Regions from separate parts of the Homo sapiens genome. Here regions 2, 3, 4 and 5 are each linked to region 1. The links are contacts of gene promoters, found by promoter capture Hi-C in blood cells and fetal thymus (Javierre and others, 2016). All regions are on one chromosome and are shown on one strand. The core of a region is centred on a gene start or on the middle of the fragment in contact, and the rest is flanking DNA. Distances in the headings are between cores, read along the strand shown.

Region 1 (3,943 bases), core at 629-3,128:
CTCTCTGAAGATTCTTTTTAAAAATGCAGATAAACCAGGAACAACATTATATGAATTCATACACAGAAAAGGATGGGGGCTTGTTATTACTTTCCTCTGACAACAGAGCCCCATGATATGGGAAGAAACGTTAACAACTGAGAGGCACACACTCAGATGTTCATTTCTTCATTTGGTCATCATTTGTTGAGCACCTACTGTGTGCCACACACTGAGCTAGAGCGTGTCGTTCCTGGCTGCAGGAGGCCCACAGTCTGATGGGAGAGGCACACATTTCCACACAGTGCAAGAGAGAGGGCCCAGGGCACAGAGGAGGGAGGCATGGACCCTGGGTTGGGCATTAATTGCTGAGGGATGTGATGTGACTCCAGGCTGGGTTTTGAAAGGTGAATGGAGTCTGCCAGCTGGGGAGAGGCAGGAGCGGGGTCCTGTCAGTTTGTTTTCTCTTAGTTCTTTCTGACCCCTGACAGAATGTCCAGGCACATTCCTCAGAAGGTCACGAGGCCATAGGGCTAGAGAACCCTGCAGGCCCCTCAGGAGGTCACCAGAGCATGCCCTCTGCCCAGAGACTGGGGCACTCTCCCCGAACTCCTCAAGGCTACTGCTTTCAAGCAGTTCAAAGAGAAAAAGAAGGAATCATTAAGAGAAATCCAGCCAATCTCATCACTCTGCTTCGGGAAGACCTTGTTCTTGGGCCAAGATTTAGTGGATTCATCTAATCCTTTCATGGAAGGAATTAAAATGGAACACCTGGCTATTTGCTTTATTTTTATCTGAAGCCACTTGCCATCACTTGAGGATAATTATGTTGAATTTTGTTTCATTCTTGATATCCCACACAAAATTTCCTCAACTCCAGAAATCACTTTTCCATAATTAAGAGCATAGATTCTAGAGCCAGATTGCCTGGACCCATATCCTAGTTCAGCTACAAGTTATGAACCTTATTCCTGCCTCAGTTTCCCCAAGTGTAAATGAGGATAATTATTTTTTCTACTCCATTGACGTGTTATGGGGCTTCAGCAAGCTGGTTACATGAGGTATTTAGAACAAGGTGAATAGCGAGTGCTCAGTGAAGACTGGCTGTTATTCACTCCCTTACTGCAGAGCACCTGACCCGGAACTGTTTGAATTACAATATAGAGGAAGTGCCGTCTCACCCAGCAAGGCAGTCAGAACCTACCAATCAACTGAAACATTCACCGAGGGCCAATTGTGTCCCTGTGGGTTCTGTTCTAGCCATTGGAAATACTAAATCCAATACAGAGTGGCCCCCATCCTCAAGAAACCTACAGCCTGGTGAGAAAACTAGACACCATCTCTTCCTTAACATGCACAATGGTGTGGTTTGTACCGTGCTATACTATGAAATGTCCTCACAGCCCCTCAACAGGTACCTGGAACAGGTATCATCCTCCCCACTTCCTGCATGATAATAAAATGCTTATCAGGAAACACCGTTTGCTTATTACGTGTCATTGGCACCTTAGCATAGGAGGTCATCTTTCAATAAGTTAACCTAGAGGGAAGGGGAGATGTTGTCTAAGTAGGCCCTGTTTTCGTCCTGCAGTGATGGGTTGTAACGAACTCAATGTTTGTGTTAGGTTTGGAGGAGACCAGCCTGTCTACATCAACATCATTAGAGACCCCGTCAACCGGTTCTTATCCAACTATTTTTTCCGTCGCTTTGGAGACTGGAGAGGGGAACAAAATCACATGATCCGCACCCCCAGCATGAGGCAGGAGGAGCGCTACCTGGTAAGTCCTGTCGCATGCAAAAGGCGGTCTCCCCACTGCCTGAGGAGTGGGCCCTCCACCAGGGAAGGTTCACTCTTCCCTTCCCAGGCCTTCTCCTTGGCGCCTCCATGGAGCGTGGCGCAGAGAGGGTGCTTCCGCAGGAAGGAGGTCTTGGCGAGAGAAACTGGTTCCGGGTGACCCAGATCCTAATGAACATTTCCTCAAATTATTTTCTGATTTTGCTTTGCTCAGTTGTCTTTAGTGCTAGGTTTTGGGACCCAGAGCGTTAACAGTCTTTCCTAAGGAGTCCTGACTAGCACTGTAGTGCTTAAGAAGAACAAAGGTGTTGGGGGGGTGTCTGTTAGAGGGCGGCAGAGCCCCTTCTCATCCCTCAGCCCATTCAGTTCCCATGACCACTCTGGGAGGGGGAGGTGTTTTCAGATGAGGACCCTGAGATTCTAAAGGTTGTGGGATTTGCCACAGTCACCTCTCAGGTAAGGGCGCAACTGCGACCGACTGTTTCGGGTTTCCTGCCTTCACAGTCTGGGTTCTTTCCACCACAGCGCGATAGAACCCTGTCATTGCACCAGTAATTGTTTGCTTTCTCTGGACTTGTTTTGGGACCCTCAGCTCCATAAGGGATGTTAGTCTCGAGCCCAGTAATTATTTCCGCAGCACAGAGGTTGGTAACAAAAACGGAGGGCGGAGTTGCGCGTCTTTCTTTCAGCACTAGAACGAAAGGTACATTTCCCATCCCTGTGTTGAGAAACATGTACTGAGGAGCTGACAGCCTGGTGCCCAGGAGGCTGAAATCCTGGTCTCTGTGTCTGAGAGAGCCCTTGGGGTTCACCCGGACCCATCCTGGGCTGTTGTCGGGCACAAGCAGGAAAGTAGGAAGTGTTGAGGATCAGTCAGAGGTGTTGTTCCCAAAGCTGGAAGATCGCCCAGAGCTGAGGCCACTGCTGATGTGCCGTCAGCAGCAGCCTTGCCGCTGGAGAAAAGCACCGAATCTCAGGGCCACGGCCAGGACGGCTGCTTCCTCATCTCATTTTAAAAACATAATGGAAGTGGATGTTCAGAGGCTGGGAGCATTTGGGGATGATGTCCCCTCAGTGTCACGTTCATGTTTTCAAATCCATGATTAGAGTAGAGAAAACTGAGATACAGAGAAGTTAGTGTCTCAGCCAGGGCCAGACGACTACACCAGACCCACGGCTTTCCACTCACCTTCGGTATTTGATCAACTACCTAAGGCTTCAGTGAAATATTTTGATGATTTTATTTTTATTTTTATTTTCTTCCTTTGATGATATATTTTAAAAGTGGCTTTTCCCTTTTTTTTTTTTTTTTTTTTTAGTTTTTATGGCGAAACCCTAATCTATTTCTTTATAGGTTATGAGGCCGGGCGCAGTGGCTCACGCCTGTAATCCCAGCACTTTGGGAGGCCGAGGCAGGTGCATCACTTGAGGCCAGGAGATCGAGACCAGCCTGGCCAACATGGTGAAAACCTGTCTTTATTAAAAATACAAAAATTAGCCGAGCATGGTGGCGCATGCCTGTGATCCCAGCGAATTGGGAGGCTGAGGCAGGAGAATCCTTTGAATCCGGGAGGCAGAGGTTGCAGTGAGCCAAGATCGTGCTACTGCACTCCAGCCTAGGTGCCAGACCGAGACTCCATCTCAAAAAATAATAATAATAATAATTAAATAAAATAAAAAACTATAGGTTATGAATATGACTATATGTTTTTTATTTGGTGAGACGTGTATTCAGAGTATAGAAACACTACAAGAATAATGTCTTCTCTAATTATCTTTATTATTTGTTTTGGATCTTGATTAATATATCTATATGCTCTTTAAAAACAGCATACATTCCATTTAATCCAGACAATTTTTTCATAGTTCTGATTCAATCCTCATGCTAAGAAAGTTAGAACCAAAGGACAGCAGAAAATGCCAAAAAACCAACAATACAGAAACACGTCTTATGAACACTACTCTTCAAATATTAATGTAAGAGTTAAGAGGAATGCTCTAGCTTCTTCCGTTCTGTCAAGCTTCTGTTGCCATCCTGTAAATCATTTCATATAATGCAGTTTTCACACACTCACACAAATAATAAGCTGCAATCATTAGAGAGAAAGGTGGCAAATGTGAGGGGAAAAAATTATGGTTTGGAGTTTCCATTTGTTCGTTTTTGTTTT
Region 2 (3,943 bases), core at 974-3,473, 330 kb before region 1:
CTCAGAGACAGCTGCAGTTTTAGGGGCAGGCCTCCTAGAGGAAATGGCACTTAAACTGGGCACTTTAAAAGAAAGAATGGTTTTCCAGAATAAGTCAATGGCATAAGCAAAACCAAGGAGGTAGCAAGAACAGGGTATACAGGGAAACAGCTATAAAAATATTAAGACCATTTTAAAATGTAACCCAAAAGATAACATTTAGAAATGATTCTGTCTGAGTAGTTCAATGAAAATTTTTGTTCTTCACAAGTCCCAGCTATTTTATCTTACTCTTTTTCTTTCTGAAGAACATGATCTAATTAAATCTATTACTTTGAAGGCCAAGATAAAAGTCAAAATGATCACATATAAAGTTTTTTATAAGAATTCTATTCTTTCCTAACAGAAGGCAGCCTTAATTTGGCTGAATGTAATGGTAATTTTTTTTCTTTTAAGAGCTTTGTGTAAGAAATAGTTATCCAGCTCATCTTTTGAAAAATGCCTCCGCCAAACTTTTAGAATAAAAGGAATATGATCCTTTTAGACATAGGCAGCAGAGGAATTCATCAAGGTGCTTCATTATTTTAGCAGTGAACCAAGAAGATGTACATCGACAGTGTTTATTTTCAAGATGATAGAAAGGAAAGGACAACGAGACGTTTTCCTTTACTACTTTCTGTAACACAAATTTGTCATTTTTCCAGGCTTGATGAGATGGACAAAGCCTTTCTAGTGACATTTGGGATAAAAACTATTACCACACATGTGGATGGTATCTGTTAAATCTCTACATTCAATATAAATGCTACATGTGTTCCTCCTCCTCTCTGGAAGATTCTAGGAGTGCTGGCAAGAGGAGGCTGCTGAATGGAGTCCAGAACCGAGCTCATCAACTCTCCTAAGTCAAAACAATGCCTGAATGATGAGTCCCCAGGCAGATTTCAGGAATGTAGAACATTCATTGAGTTTGCATATTGTACTAGGAGCCTCTTGTTTGCTTTGCAGGTTACACCAAAGCCAAGAGCATCCTGGAGAGCCAGCAACTCTTGGGTCCTAACACAGCTCTTCAAGAAGTACTCTTCCATGTATCCACTCACAAATGCACATCAGATTCCCACTGTGTGAAGTACATTGTGCTGGGGGCTGGGGAAGACAAATGAGTTTAAACACACAAATCCTTGTTCTAGAGGAGAGTTTTATTTGTAGGGGAGACACCCATACTTACAAATAGATAGAATGAAAGTAAAAGAAAAATCAATGACACGAGACACATTCATTTTCTCTTTCAACAAATTTTATCAATCATTGTCTGCCAGACACTGTTTGCCTTGCTAAGGAGTTGAGACTTCATCCTGTGGGCACTGGAAGCCATTAAAATGTTTAAACAGGGACTAGCATGTAAAGATTGTGCTTTGGAAGGGCATGTCTCTTGTAAAGAAGATTAGAGTCAAAGCAACCAAATAAAAGTTGTTTCAGTAATCAAGGCAAGAGACAATAAGTCTGAGGAGTAGAAGTAAAGAGAAGCCAGTAAGATTAAGTAAGTACCACTGGAGAATGTTGCCATTAATTAGATGCGAGAAGGGGGAAGAGGAGGGAAAACCCCTGCTGTAGGAACTTCACGGAAGGATGTGAGCCTATGTTTGCAGGAGATCTGGACATAGCATTGGCAGATAAAACTGGTATCTTAGTTCCAGTTAAGGCAAGAAGTGAAGAGAGCTTAAGGATCTTAAGTTTAAGAATTTTAACTTCTTAAGTTTAAGAACTTCCAGTGAGAAGCTTAGGAGAGTTTCCTTACTGTAAAATTAGGCAATGTTACCACAACAGCTCATGAGCCATTAGTGAGTCAAGACATCAATTTAGTAGGTTTTGACCTGCATCATTTTCAATTTTTAAAGCAGCTTTGTTGAGGCAAAATTTCCACACCATAACAATCACCCATGGTAAGTGTACAATTCAGTGATTTGTAGTAAATTTACTTATAAAGCCATTACCACAATCCAGTATTAAGACATTTCCAACACCCCAAAAAGTTTCCTCCTGCCCATTTGCAGTTCATCTCTGCTTCCATATTTCAGCCATAGGCAACCACCGGTTTGCTTTCTGTCTCCTTAAGTGTGCCTTTTCTGGATATCTTATTTTTATTTTATTTTTTGGTGCGATCTTGGCTTACTGCAAACTCTGCCTCCCAGGTTCAAGCGATTCTCCTGCCTCAGCCTCCCAAGTAGCTGGGATTACAGGCATGTGCCAGCACGCTGGGCTATTTTTTGTATTTTTAGTAGAGTCAGGGGTTTCAGCATGTTGGCCAGGCTGGTCTTGAACTCCGGACCTAAAGTGACCAACCTGCCTTGGCCTCCCAAAGTGCTGGATTACAGGCGTGAGCCACAGCACCCAGTCCTGGATATTTTAAATAAATAGAAACATACAATTTTGCAGTCTTTCATGCATGGCTTCTTTCACTTCTTTCACTGGTGTTTTTGAGGTCCATCCATGTTAACTGTGTATCAATATGTTCTTTTTATTGCTGAATAGCCCATTGTATGGATATACTGCATTATGTTATCCAACCACCAACTGACAGACATTTGGATTGTTCCCAGTTTGAGGTTAATAGAAACAATGCCGCTATGAACGTCTGTGTATAAGTCTTCGGGTAGAAATATATTCCTGTTCTCTTGAATATATCCTTAGGAGTGGAATTGCTGTGTCATATGAAAAGCTTATATTTAACTTTTTAAGGAACTGCTAAATTATTTTCCAAGTGGTTGTACCATTTTACATTTCCACACGCAATGTATGATTGTTTTAGTTGCTTCACATCCTTCAGTTGGTATTGTTAGTCTTTCTGATTACAGTTTTTCTAGTGGGTGTGTATGTAGTGGTATCTCATTGTAGTCCTAATTTCCCTCATGACTGATGTGGTTGAGCACATTTTCACGTGCTCAGTGATCATTCACATATGGTCAAATCTTTTGTGCATTTTGTAATTGGGTTCTTAATCTGATTATTGAACTATGAGAGTCCCTGATATATTTCTTTATCAGACATGTTTTTTAAAAATGTAACAAAATTAAATTTAACAGTTTAATTGGGCAAAGAACGATTTGCGAATTGGACAGTCTCCTGAGCCAGGGTAGGCTCAGAGACTCCAGCACAGACACATGGTGGAAGAAGATTTATGGACAGAGAAAGGAAAGCAAGGTACAGAAAACAGAAGTTAGGTACAGAAACAGCTGGATTGGTTACAGCTCCGTCTTTGCCTTATTTGAACACAGTTTGAACAGCTGGCCACCTTTGATTGGCCAAAACTCAGTGATTGGCACAAGTGGTGGCTACAGTCTGTATACAACTCCATTCAGGCTACGATACACTATAGCTCAGGAGGTACAGAGAAACCCTTAGGCCAAACTTAAAATATGAAGGAGGCAGCTTTAGGCTAAATTTGATTTAACAGCTACATGATTAGCGAATATTTTCTTCCAGTCTGAGCCATATCTTTTCATTTTATTGATGATGTCTTTTGAAGCACAATTTTATTTTTTTATTTTTATTTATTTATTTTTTTTGAGGCGAAGTCTCGCTCTGCCTCCCAGGCTGGAGTGCAGTGGCGCGATCTCGGCTCACTGCAAGCTCCGCCTCCGGGGTTCATGCCATTCTCCTGCCTCAGCCTCCTGAGTAGCTGGGACTACAGGCGCCCGCCACCATGCCCAGCTAATTTTTTGTATCTTTAGTAGAGATGGGGTTTCACCGTGTTAGCCACGATGGTCTCAATCTCCTGACCTCGTGATCCGCCGGCCTCGGCCTCCCAAAGTGCTGGGATTACAGGCACGAGCCACCGCTCCCGGCCAAAGCACAAACATTTTTAATTTTGATTTTGTTCAATTTATCAATTCTTTAAAGAAAATTTATCTAAAAAAATTTCTTCCCAACTCAACGTCCCAAAGATTTACTCTTATGTTTTCTTCAA
Region 3 (3,943 bases), core at 732-3,231, 320 kb before region 1:
TCATTTTAGACCATGGAAATGATGTTAGACGAATGGCAGATTCAAGCAATTTTCTTATTTGAGTCCATGACAATGCCTGACTGCATGTTGCACAACCTATGCTTGAAAAGTTGAATGAATTGGTCTACAAAGTTTTGCCTCATCTGCCATATTCACCTGACTTCTCACCAACCACCACTTCTTCAAGCATCTCGACAACTTTTTGCAGGGAAAACGCTTCTACAACCAGCAGGATGCAGAAAATGCTTTCCAAGAGTTTGTCGAATCCTGAAGCAAGGATTTTTGTGCTACAGGAATAAAAAAACTTACTTATCGTTGGCAAAAATGCGTTGATTGTAATGATTCCTATTTTGATTAATAAAGATGTGTTTGAGCCTAGCTATAATGATTTAAAATTTATAATCTGAAACTGCAATTACTTTTGCACTAACCTAGTTTTGCCTTTTTCAGAATTTTATATAAATGGAATTATAGAGTCTATAGGCATTTGTTTCTGCTTTCTTTTACTTAGCATAATACTTATGACACTCATTCGTCTTTATCAATAGTTTATTTCTTTTTGTTTCTGAGTGGTACATCTTTGTATTGGTCCTCCACCAGTTATTTATTCCTTTACCTGTTGATGGACATTTGGGTTCTGTCCAGTTATGGGCTATTAAGAGTAAAGCTGCTATGAAGATTATGTACAAGTCTTTGTGTGGGCACATGCTTTCATTTCTCTTAGGCAATACCTAAGATTGAAATGGCAGCATAGTAGAACAGGTTTATGGGTTTTGTTTGTTTGTTTGTTTGTTTTTTGGAGTTTCTGCTCTTGTTGCCCAGGCTATGAGTGCATGAGTACAATGGTGCGATCTCAGCTCACTACAACCTCTGCCTCCTGGATTCAAGCAATTCTCCTACCTCAGCCTCCCGAGTAGCTGGAATTACAGGCATGCACCACCATGCCCAGCTAATTTTTGTATTTTTAGTAGTGATGGGGTTTCACCATGTTGGTCAGGCTGGTCTTGAACTCCCGACCCCAGGTAATCTGCCTGCCTAAGCCTCCCAAATTGCTAGGATTACAGGCATGAGCCACTGTGCCCGGCCAGGTTTGTTTTTAAAAAACTGACAGTTTTCCAGTGGTGTTCCAGGTTATGTTCCCACAGTGTATGATCATTCCAATTGCTCTGCTTCCTCACCAACACTAGGTATGATTGGCCTTTTTAATTAGAACCATATTTATGAGTGTGTAGTGATATCTCATTGTGGTTTTGATTTACATTTCCTTTATAAACAACAATGTTGAACATCTATCTTATGTGCTTATTTTCCTTCTCTATATCTTATTTGATTAAGTTTCTGTTTAAATCTTTTGCCCATTTTTATTTGGATTATTTGTCTTATTATTGAATTGTGTGAGTTATTTATATATTTCAGATACAAATTCTGTATCTGAAAATATTTGAAAATATTTTGTTAGTCTGTGGCTTACCTTTTCATATCCTTAAATTTCTTTTGAGGACCAAGAGTTTTTACTTTTGATGAAATCCAATTTTTTTTATTTTATACTTTGTACTTTTATGTCCTAATTATAAAAAGCTTTTTTTTTTTAAGAACTGATGTTTATTTTCCAACAACCTTATTTCCATTTTGCTTAGGAGCCTGTGGAAAATGGCTTAAGACCGACCACTCAGTGGTTTTTCATACCCATTCAGTGGCCCAAGCAGTGGGAGCTGTGGACCAGTCTTCCATGGCAGGCTGAGTGCTCTAGTCTTCAGTAGGGACCTGCTGAACAGACACAGGGGGCACCTGTGTGACCTGCACACCTTCAAAGCAGGCTGCAACCTCAGGCTGAGTAGCAGTACACTCAGGAGCCAGGGCAGTCCCTTCACCCTGAAATTCCTCCTTAGCCTCAGCTTTTTTAGCAGCAGCCTGCTCTTTCTTTCTAATCTCCTTGGGATCTCTGTAGACATAGAGATCAGGCACGACCTCCTATGGGTGTTCACAGGAGATGGTGCCATGCATATGCAGAACTTCCAGGCTGGCATCTTCCACATCAGACCCACTGAGTGAGTGCCCTTGTTGTTGCAGGGGATGGCAATGTCCACAGCGCAGACGAGAATCTGTGTGACCCAAAGCAATGGTAGGCAGGTTAGCATAAGACACCTCTGTGAGAGGCTGGTGGTCAGCTCTGGGATCAGTAATTGCCAAGAGCCATGGCTCCCAGAAGGCTGCCTGGGTCTGGTTAGTGAAAGTTTCAAGAGTGAAACAATGAAACAGCCAGCAATAGGAGTGACTCCAGTGGCAGCAGCAAACTTCAGCACAGCCCACTGGCCAGTATTCTGGAGGGCGTGACACTGACATCAGCACAGTTTTCAATGGCAACAATGGCGCCAGCTGCCAGAAGAAGCTTCTCCCAGGTCCTGTTCAGATTTAGGAAGCAGATGCTTTCACTTTTCCTTTTATAGGTGTACTGTTCCATTTGGAAGTCGAGGTTGATGCCACCTAATTGGGTCCCTGCTGCAAGAAACTTGAGGACATCCTCCTCCTTCATTTGCAGGATATCAAGGGCTCCAGACGTTGTGAAAGTTTCCCTTGAAGTTACAATGGAATCCAGAACAATGCCATATGGACCCTCCTCTGGGTATCCAGAAAGCCTAATTATGAAAACTTTAGCTAACTTGTGACTGCTTGGATTTTCTCTGATGTCTTCTAGAAGTTTTATGCTGTTGACTCTTACCTTAAGGTCTTTATCTATTTTGAATCAATTTTTCTTTATGGTGTGAGGTAAGAAACAAGGGTAATTTTTTAGCATATAAATATCCAGTTGTTCCAGCACCAACTGTTGAAACAATTATCCTTTCCCCCATTAAATTCCCTTGGTATCTTTGTCAAGAATCTATTGACAGTGATTGCTAACAGATTTCCAGAAAGAAGAAGTGAGAAGCACAGCAGCCTACTAAGCATAACAATCGTTTTACTAAAAAAGAAGTTAAAGAAAATAGTTTTTTTTAAGTTTCTGCACATTGTTCTGAGGGCATACAGAAAATGAAGAAATATTTATTCCAGAAAATTTACTAAATCCTTGGTAACAGCATAGTCTGTATTGATAAAAGAAAAGCTTTAGCCGAATTAAATTTAAAGGAGTTTAATTGAGCAATGAATGATTTTCAAATTGGGCAGCCCACAGAATTAGAGCAAATTCACAGAGACTCCAGCACAGCCATGTAGTGGAAGAATATTTATAGACAAAAAGGGGAAATAATGTACAGAAATTGGAAGTGAGGTACAGAACGACTGGATTGGTTCCAAGTTTGTGTTTGCCTTATTTGAACACAGCTTGAACATTCAGCAGTGTATAAATGGTCGAAGTACAGCCACTGGGATTGGCCAAGACTCAGCTATTGCTCCAGGTGCATACTCCTAAGTTAGGTTTTCAATCTTGTCTGCCTACTAAACTAGGTTGCAGTTTGTTCACAAGGACTCAAATACAGAAGTACAGAGTCCTCCTCAGGCCATATTTAGTTGACTTTAACAGTGTCCTCTGAGCCATGACTGCTTCCTCCCTCCCCTCTCTAAGCTCTGACTTATGGAAACACTGCTCTGGGCACTCAACTTCAGGCAGTGAAGCCCAAGAATATGACACAGGGGATCCCTCTCCCTCCTGTGTCCCAGAATAGGGCTACAGCTTCACCCTGGGAATGCAGGCTGCTGCTGTTTCTCACTTCCCCTATGATGAGAAGCTTTGTTCTTATCATACATGACCTCCTGCATAAACTCTTTCATACAGAAGTTCTGATCATACATAGCCCAAAGGGCTGAGGCTCCCATCTTATACCCTACTCATAGGGTGGAAATACTATTTCAGAACCAGCAGATTGAGAATACTGGGGCTCCAGGTCCCTCCCCTGTCATTCCCAGGGCAGAGGTTCCACAAGGAGAAGGCAAGCTAAGAAGGCTGGAG
Region 4 (3,943 bases), core at 914-3,413, 280 kb before region 1:
GACTCAGATTGTTTAAGTAACAATCTAAGTCTTTCCCAAGGACGCAGAATCGTGAGTGGTAGGTCTGGAACTGAAGTTCTAGCAAGCTCAAGCTCACTGTCTTCCCCCTACATGATGTGTCTGTGCATAGGACAACTATAGTAAAATCAACCAAGACAATTATCTCTTTGTCATGAATATATTATTAAATTAAGGGCAGAAAAGTTATCAGCAGCTTCTACTTGAAGAGAATCTGCTTTGCCTGATCTGTCCTTCATCTGTATTCTTCTATCTTCTCTCCTTTACCTTGCCATCACCATATAAGACATGTATCTGTGGCTTAGAATCAAGTTCTTGCAGGAAGACAATATCCTTGGCCACAGAATTTACACCAAAATATTAACAGTGGTTGTGTCTGAAATAGGGTAAATTTATTCCTTCTTGCTATATTTGTATATTTCATAATAAAAGTACACTTGTAAAAATAAGGTCTTAAATGTACATTTCTAAATTTATCTTCTTAAAAAATTTTAAAATTGACAAATAAAAATTGTATACATTATGGGGTATGACATGATGTTTTGATATATGTGTACATTGTAGAATGGCTAAATCAAGCTATTGAACATATCCATTTCCTCACATATTTATCATTTTTTTGGTGGTGAAGGCGTTCACTTTTCAAGTATGCAATGCATTATTAGCTACAGTCACCATGTTGCACAACAGATCTCTTGAACTTATTCCTCCTGTCTAACTGAAATTTTATACCCTTTTACCAACATCTCTTTGATTCCCCCCTAATGTTTTAAGTTAAAACTATGACTTTAACATGGAAAAAATAAAGAATTAAATGAACTATTGCCATCTAACAATATTTTGGTGAAATCCACCAGCTATAAAAGCCCAACTTATAAACATCCCAAAATGCCAACAATCAGAATGAATTTAGCTGTCATCACTTACTTGCTTTAATTTTCTTCACAGTTTTTTAATGTACTTCCATGTGTCTTATGGGGACATGTGACCGATATTAGGTCACTTGTCCTCATGCCTCATTCTCTAGGAATCAAGGACTTGTCTTGCTTTAATTTTGCTGGCTTTAGCCTTGCTACTCTTCCCAGTCCTTCATCCGCCGCCAAGGTTTCCCCAGGACAGCGATGGTTTGACTTTGTTTATTCCTGCTGTTACGCATCAGGCCAGAATATGCTCAGGAGCTACAGAATTGTTTATTTAAACACACACACGTGCGTGCACACACACGTGCATACACACACATGCACACACAGGCTCACGTGCACACAAGCACACACGTGGACACACACACACACAGGCACATGTGAACGTACACACGTGTGTGCAAGCACACATGCGTGCATGGACACACACCACGCACACACACACTCGCACACACACACATTTTTTCTCTTATTAGAAAAGTAACATTTTGGAAATCTCAGGGAAAAAAATTGATAAACCAAAAGATAAAAACAATGCCACATTGAATTTCACACAGAGCTGTCTTTGTGGATATCCTTTCATTATTTTGCCTATTCGTGTGTGTGTTCCCGTGTGCACGTGTACATGTGCACATGTGATCATAAAAAACTGGACAGAATTCTGTTATTAAAAAGTCCCAATTTAAAATAGAATAGTTTGGTCTAAGTTTAAAATTACATTTTAAGATATGGCTTATTATACCATGTTTGCTTTAAAGATGACCTCTCTACAGCTTATGCTAACTCTCCAGTAGCTTCCATAAAATATTAAAAACTAGTTCTGCCTCTCCTAAAGGAAGGCACTTTTATTTTCTTACACTCATTTTAATGCCTAAAATAAGAGCTTCCTCCCTCTCCCCCAATATGGTCACTATCTTCAGGACGTACTAAATCAGGAAGCTTCTCAATTCTTTCTTCCTCTACTAGTTCCTCTTTTTGGAAGAAGTTACTTTCTTAACTGGACAGATGGAAGAGTCCAACAGGCTCTGAACTGAGCCAAAGCAGAAGTGGAATCCAACACCAGGGAGCAGGTCCACATCTCCACCTCCTCCCATTTCACCTTCCCTCGTGGTGAGCTCAGCAGGAAGGGCCTCTCCTGACTGAAACTCCCCAGCCGCATTGTCTGTGGCTGCGAGGGGAAGTCAGATTCAGCCGGGGGAGAAGAAGGAAGCCTCACTCTCCCCCTAACCCTTTGGCACTCTGTGACCTCCCATCTGTCTCCTGTTTACACAGCAAACTGATTAGAACCCAGAGGAGAGCAAGAGTATGATTAGTCAGCACCCCAAATCTCAAGAATGGTCCCTATAGGATACGCTCTGTATGTTGTAATATGCAGATATGTGCACCGTGTGTGGTGTGTTAAGTATACATTGTAGATTATACTTACATTGTAATGTGCTTGTACATTAAATTACAAGTAGATTTTTATAAATTGCACAGGGAAGTTTCAACTTCCTTTAGGGCTCCATAATTAAGCTTCCTAGAATAGCTTAGAAAACAAATTTGCAATCATGTCAAAGCTAACCTATAACTTTAGTATAAAATTTAGCAAAATACATGCTGGGTAAAGAGCCATTGAAATATACTTTAAAACCACCAACCATTCTCACTTAGGTGAGAGCAACAGGGTAAGTTTCATTTACTTAGAAGTTAGTTTTGTTGTTTTTTAGTTTAGGGCCTGGCTAAGGCTCCTTCATTCCCTCTGCATTCTTCATACCTCACGTCTGTAAATACCACGAGATGCTCCCCACATGCAACTGTCCAGAAGCATGTCATCCCATTCTCAGTCTCAAATGGACTTTGTTCTTTTCAAAGGAAGAGAGGTCTTACCTGAGGCAGAACTGCAGCCACTCCTGGGATTTAGACACTTCCGGTTACGTCTGGTGGGCAGGTAGGATGAGATGATGAAAGCCTATTTCCAGAGGCTAAGGAGGTTCCTAGGAGGTAATTCATCCTAAGGGAAGAAGGAACCGGGCACAACCAGCTTGATACCGCCATAGAGGCTTCGTGGTCAACGGTGGGGAGGAATTTGGAGCACAGTGTTGTGCCAGTTTCACAGATCTGTCATCAGTACACAAGACTCTACATCTGGGTTCTAGGAAGAGAAGGGGCTGTAAGTCATAATTGGAGCATTTATTTATTTATTTAGGCTAACACTGGGATATACTTGCTTTGCTTGGGTAATTCCCTAAAGGAATGTGATATGAGAGAGATAGGGAAGGGGACAGTGGCCAGCAGACAGTGTTGGTACCTGGAAGCTTCCCAGGCATCGCTGGTGGCAGCTGAAGCTGTGGTCGTAGGCAGAGGTCTGTGCCTACAGCAGCACTACCCAGAAGGAGACCACCAGGTCTGGAGGGTGTGGTGGGCCCTGCAGAATCTGGGTGGGGCTCTCCTGAGGCAGCATCAGGGGTGATATCCTGCAGGGGCAGGGCCAGGGCCAGCAGAGCAGTCTGCTCCCAAGGACCCTGGGGTTAAGGGATGGAATGCTTACTAATTATACTCTAAATCTGGACCTCCGGGCTCAAACTGCCAGAAGCCCAGACAGGATGGAGGGATAAGAAAAGGAAACAGGAAATACTCAGAATTAAAGAAGAAATAGAGGTGCTAAAAGACCTTCTTACTGACACAGGTATCAGAATGGATAGATGGAAGATGACCTGAAACCTGGCCAGACACATTTCTAAGCACATGTGAAATGCATATGGGGAACCCTCAAGAGGAGGCTTTTGGTAGCTGGGGACCCACATGAATAGGTAGATTCTTGTTTCACTACAACAAAAATTATATCAAAGCGAAACAAAACTTGAACACAGAAACATCTATACTGGCCTAGAAAAGTGGAGACGAGAGGGAGGGAGAGAAATTGTCAAGGATTAAATTATGTTTGCAATCTCAAAACACATTCTGCAGCAGAGCCTGGGAGTCTATGTGTCCATTTATGTAATTTAGAGTGTTTTGTTCAACCA
Region 5 (3,943 bases), core at 374-2,873, 260 kb before region 1:
GAAATGAGGGGTCTCACTTTGTTGTCTAGACTGGTCTCAAACTTCTGGCTTCCAAGGATCCTCCCCTGGCTTCCAAGGATCCTCCCCTATGTTAACTCTCTTCATCTTCACAGCAACCTTATAGAGTACATGCTATTAACACCCTGAGGTTATGGATGAAGAAACAGGTGCAGCGAATGGGTGATTTGCCTAAGGTTGGGCAACAAATCAGAAACAGGTAGGATTTGAGCCCAGGAATCCTGGTATCAGAGTCTGTACTCAGAAATGCTAGGCAGAGAGAAAATTCTTGAACTTTGAGAGTAGGCTGTTAAAATGTGATTATTCAACAAGAAATTTCTCTTCTAAATAAATTATTTAGATGTTAAAAATTCTTCTGACATGAGCAAATACTCTTGACAATAGTTCAGAGAATCTAGGTCAGACCTTTTACTCTGCTAACCTAGTTCTTCACTAAAAAGCAACATCTACTACCGTTATTACCAATAATTAAAATAATAATGGCAATGACTTCATGGACCTGCTGCTTATAAACTTCACTGATATGATAGTATAGTAAATATAATTTGTTCAGAATTAGGAGGCTGACCTCTAGTGTCATGATTTTAATTAGCTGGATGTTAATAAATATTGGGATAGTTTTTAGTGCTGTAAGTTTTTTTTTTTTAATAAAAAGTCTTCTCCTTGAATACTTGTGATTTTTTTCATTCTTTTTTCTTTTCTTCCCTTAAGAAAGCAAATATTTATTTCACATACAGAGAAATTAGTCACTCTGTTTTCATTGTTCCTTTATTTTTACATCTCTAATTTAATCTTGTATTAATTCCCAAAAGCAATTGTGCAATTTTGGGTTTTTCTGAAATACGTCTCATTCATTCCCTAAAGCTTTGGAAATGCTCCATGGTGCTCCTTTCCCCAAGCCTTTTTGCATTTTAAAAAATTCCCTTTCTGTTTTAGAGCCAAACTTTGCCCTTGTCCCAAACTTCTATATTTTAAAAATACTCTTGTCTTATTTTCTAATGATTGGGTGAATTTCATTTCTACCACTTTTCTATTTTTTTTTCCCTGGATTGTTTTGGTGATTCAATTTCTGGGCTCCAAATATATAGTTGCCAGATTTTTACTGCTATTGGCCATAAAATCCTGCCCAGTCACTGGGCTGTAAAAAAGCAGATGCAAAATTGCTCCTACTGTCGGCTGCCAGCTGTGTAGTCCCGCAGCCAGAGGCAGAGAGGCCGTATTCCCCCCACTTTCCTTAGATTCAGGAGCCTGTTCAATACGCATTGCCTATGTCACGACCTGCATAGCTGCCTGTCAGTAACCGCCTAGGGCTCTTATTTGTGTAAATAAGTTAGTTTCATTTTCATTTTGTTTGAACTTCCACATTGCCACTACATAGAGAATGTTTTCTTTATCTTTTCCTACTGAGTTGTAAATAATTGTTACCCTAATCTTGCAGATACAATGATGCTGCCTTGATTCTGGTGTGTTAGGTTCAGTTCACAGGAGCTACTCTCCTTTTCAAAGCAAGCAGCATCAGCACACTGATTCTTGGCTGGAATTCGGAGACCCGGAGACCTGGGCAGGAGACAGAAGCAGCATTGTATGAAAGGATGAAAGAGAGACAAGAGGCAGCATCCTGGGTGTGAAACGAAAATAATATCATCTGTCTTGTCCAAATGAACTGGCAATGCAAGGGGGCCAACCATAGAAAGAATCTATGTGGTAAGCAATGGAGTAGAAACCAGATCAGATGAACGGCCAAAATGCATGTTTATTTTCTCATTGGATTCTCATGGTCTCACCTCCATGGAGAGACAGAACTAGAATTTGACCCATGCAGTGTGACCAGAGGGCCTGGACGCCAAGTCTCTGCTTGACTGCCCTGGTTTACGGTCTTTGAGAGGTTATTTTCTGCCCAAGAGCATCCATTAGTACATGGGAATCCAGACTTGGAACATGCTCTGTCTGGCTCCAGAGTCCTCTAGGTTTTCAAATATTCTACTGAGATTGAGGCAAAGGCTCAGGAAGCATCCCCTGAGCTGGAAAGGGCTGCTGTAATTGGTTTTCATAGGACACCTGTATAGTGGGCTGTTGACCCAGCTTGTACACAGTCTCAGTGAGGGTGATTTTTTTAAGGCTTATTTGTGTTTTTGCTTATATCATGGCCCTTTAGAATACTCATTTGATTGCCTTGTAGTGGTTGTTATTTTTCATTTATTTTGAGTGGGTATGTTATTTTCCTTTCTGGCTGCTTCTTTTCCTGCCATTTTGGGGTTTGACCCAATCTACTACAAAATATAGATGTTCCTAGTATTTTTTTTCATGTATTTAAGCCTCTTCTAGTGTGTTCATGTGTTTAATGTCAAAGCTTCTGTCTTACCCCAAAGTTTATATGGTTATATGATTATATCTCTCCCTTTACCCTTTCTTTGGAATCGATTTTTAAAAAATTAATAGACTTCATTTCTTTTAGCAATTTTAGGCTTACAGAAAAACTGGGCAGAAAATACAGAGCTCCTATATTCACCTTCCCCACTCCCACACACCGTTTGTGGAAAAGACTATCTTTTTTCCACTAAATTGACTTTTCTCATTCATCAAATATCAGTTGACCTTATTTGTTTGGATCTATTTCTAGGCTCTGTACTCTGCTCCACTTATCTGTCTATTCTTTCACCAATACCATGCTGTCTTGATTATTGTAGCTTTATAGTACTTCCTGGAGTTGGATAGTGTAAGGCCTCTGATTGTATTCTTTTCTTTCTTACTTAATGAAACCCAATACTGGGTTGGCTATTCTGGGTCTTTTGCCTTTCCATACAAACTTTAGAACTAGTTTGTCAAAATTAAAAAAAATTTTTAAACCTTTACTGGTATTTGGATTGTAATTTCATTTAATCTATAGATCCAGTTGGGAAGAAGGGATATTTGACAATATTAAATCTTATCCATGTCCATGGTGTATCTCTCCATTTATTCATATATTCTTTGGTTTCTTTCATCAGAGGTTTATAGCTTTTATCATATAAATCTTATACATATTTTGTTAGATTTATACCCATTTTTTGGTGTGAATGTAAATGGCATTATTTCTTAATTTCAAATTCCAGTTGTTCATTGTTGATATGTAAGAAAGCAATTAACTTTTAAATATTAATCTTGTATCTGCCAACGTTTACATAATAGCTTACTAATTCCAGAAGGGGATTTTTGTTGTTGCTGATTCTTTCGGATTTTCTACACAGACAATCATACCATCTATATACGAAGACAGCTTTATTTCTTTCTTCCCAATCTGTATGCTTTTAATTTCTTTTTCTTGTCTTATTGCACTAGTTAGGACTTCCAGCATGATCTAAAATAAGACTGGTGAGAGCAGATATCCTTGCCTTCCTAAATTAAAAGGAAAGCATCTAGTTTCTCTTCATTAAGTATGAAGTTAGCTGTAGATTTTTTGTACATGTCCTTTATCAGTTTGAGAAAGTTTCCCTCTATTCCTAGTTTGCTTGGAGTTTTTACCGTAAGTGGATGGTGGATTTTGTTAAATTCTTTTTCTGCATCTATTGATATGATCATATAATTTTTCTTCTTTAGCCTGTTGTTGTGATTGAATACATTATGATTTTCAAACATTGAACTAGTCCTGCATATCTGGAGTAAATCCCATTTGGTCATGGTGTATTGTTTGTTTTATACATTGTTGGATTCAATTTACTAATATTTTGTTGACGATTTTTGCATCCATTTTCCTGAGAGATACTAGTCTATTGTTTTCCTTTCCTGTAATGCCTTCATCTGGTTTTGGCATTAAGGTTAGGCTGGTTTCATCGAATGAATTAAAACATATTTTCCTCTGTTTCTCTTTTCTCCTTGTTTGTTTTTACTTCTAGCTTTTTTTTTCCCATGCATCCAAAAATGGTCAATAATTCTAAACTCATGTCTA

The links. Contacts are between HindIII fragments. The CHiCAGO score rates a contact against its expected background, and 5 or more counts as called.
Region 2: a contact is called between a fragment that was not itself captured here and the fragment with the promoter of UST-AS1 in region 1, in 3 of 17 cell types (naive B cells, megakaryocytes and total B cells). The highest score is 8.2, in naive B cells.
Region 3: a fragment that was not itself captured here is called in contact with the fragment with the promoter of UST-AS1 in region 1 in 2 of 17 cell types (naive B cells and total B cells); the score reaches 7.5 in naive B cells.
Region 4: a fragment that was not itself captured here is called in contact with the fragment with the promoter of UST-AS1 in region 1 in 9 of 17 cell types (naive B cells, total B cells, megakaryocytes and 6 more); the score reaches 8.7 in naive B cells.
Region 5: a contact is called between a fragment that was not itself captured here and the fragment with the promoter of UST-AS1 in region 1, in 4 of 17 cell types (naive B cells, total B cells, M0 macrophages and 1 more). The highest score is 7.5, in naive B cells.

The regions. Positions count from the first base shown.
Region 1 is chr6:148,962,806-148,966,748 of GRCh38, forward strand. UST-AS1 (UST antisense RNA 1) reads right to left here and starts at 1,879. Exons shown (of 3, transcript NR_038408.1): 1 at 1,756-1,879. It overlaps UST (uronyl 2-sulfotransferase), which reads left to right. Exons shown (of 8, transcript NM_005715.3): 5 at 1,605-1,758. RefSeq lists enhancers at 767-1,343, 1,344-1,920. The HindIII fragment of the contact is 7,762 bases long and covers 1-3,794 here.
Region 2 is chr6:148,628,459-148,632,401 of GRCh38, forward strand. No RefSeq gene overlaps it. Among named protein-coding and RNA genes, the nearest start is that of UST, 120 kb to the right of the region's middle. The HindIII fragment of the contact is 940 bases long and covers 1,754-2,693 here.
Region 3 is chr6:148,646,038-148,649,980 of GRCh38, forward strand. It overlaps the pseudogene RPSAP40. Among named protein-coding and RNA genes, the nearest start is that of UST, 99 kb to the right of the region's middle. The HindIII fragment of the contact is 811 bases long and covers 1,577-2,387 here.
Region 4 is chr6:148,681,163-148,685,105 of GRCh38, forward strand. No RefSeq gene overlaps it. Among named protein-coding and RNA genes, the nearest start is that of UST, 64 kb to the right of the region's middle. The HindIII fragment of the contact is 576 bases long and covers 1,876-2,451 here.
Region 5 is chr6:148,699,669-148,703,611 of GRCh38, forward strand. No RefSeq gene overlaps it. Among named protein-coding and RNA genes, the nearest start is that of UST, 45 kb to the right of the region's middle. The HindIII fragment of the contact is 1,486 bases long and covers 881-2,366 here.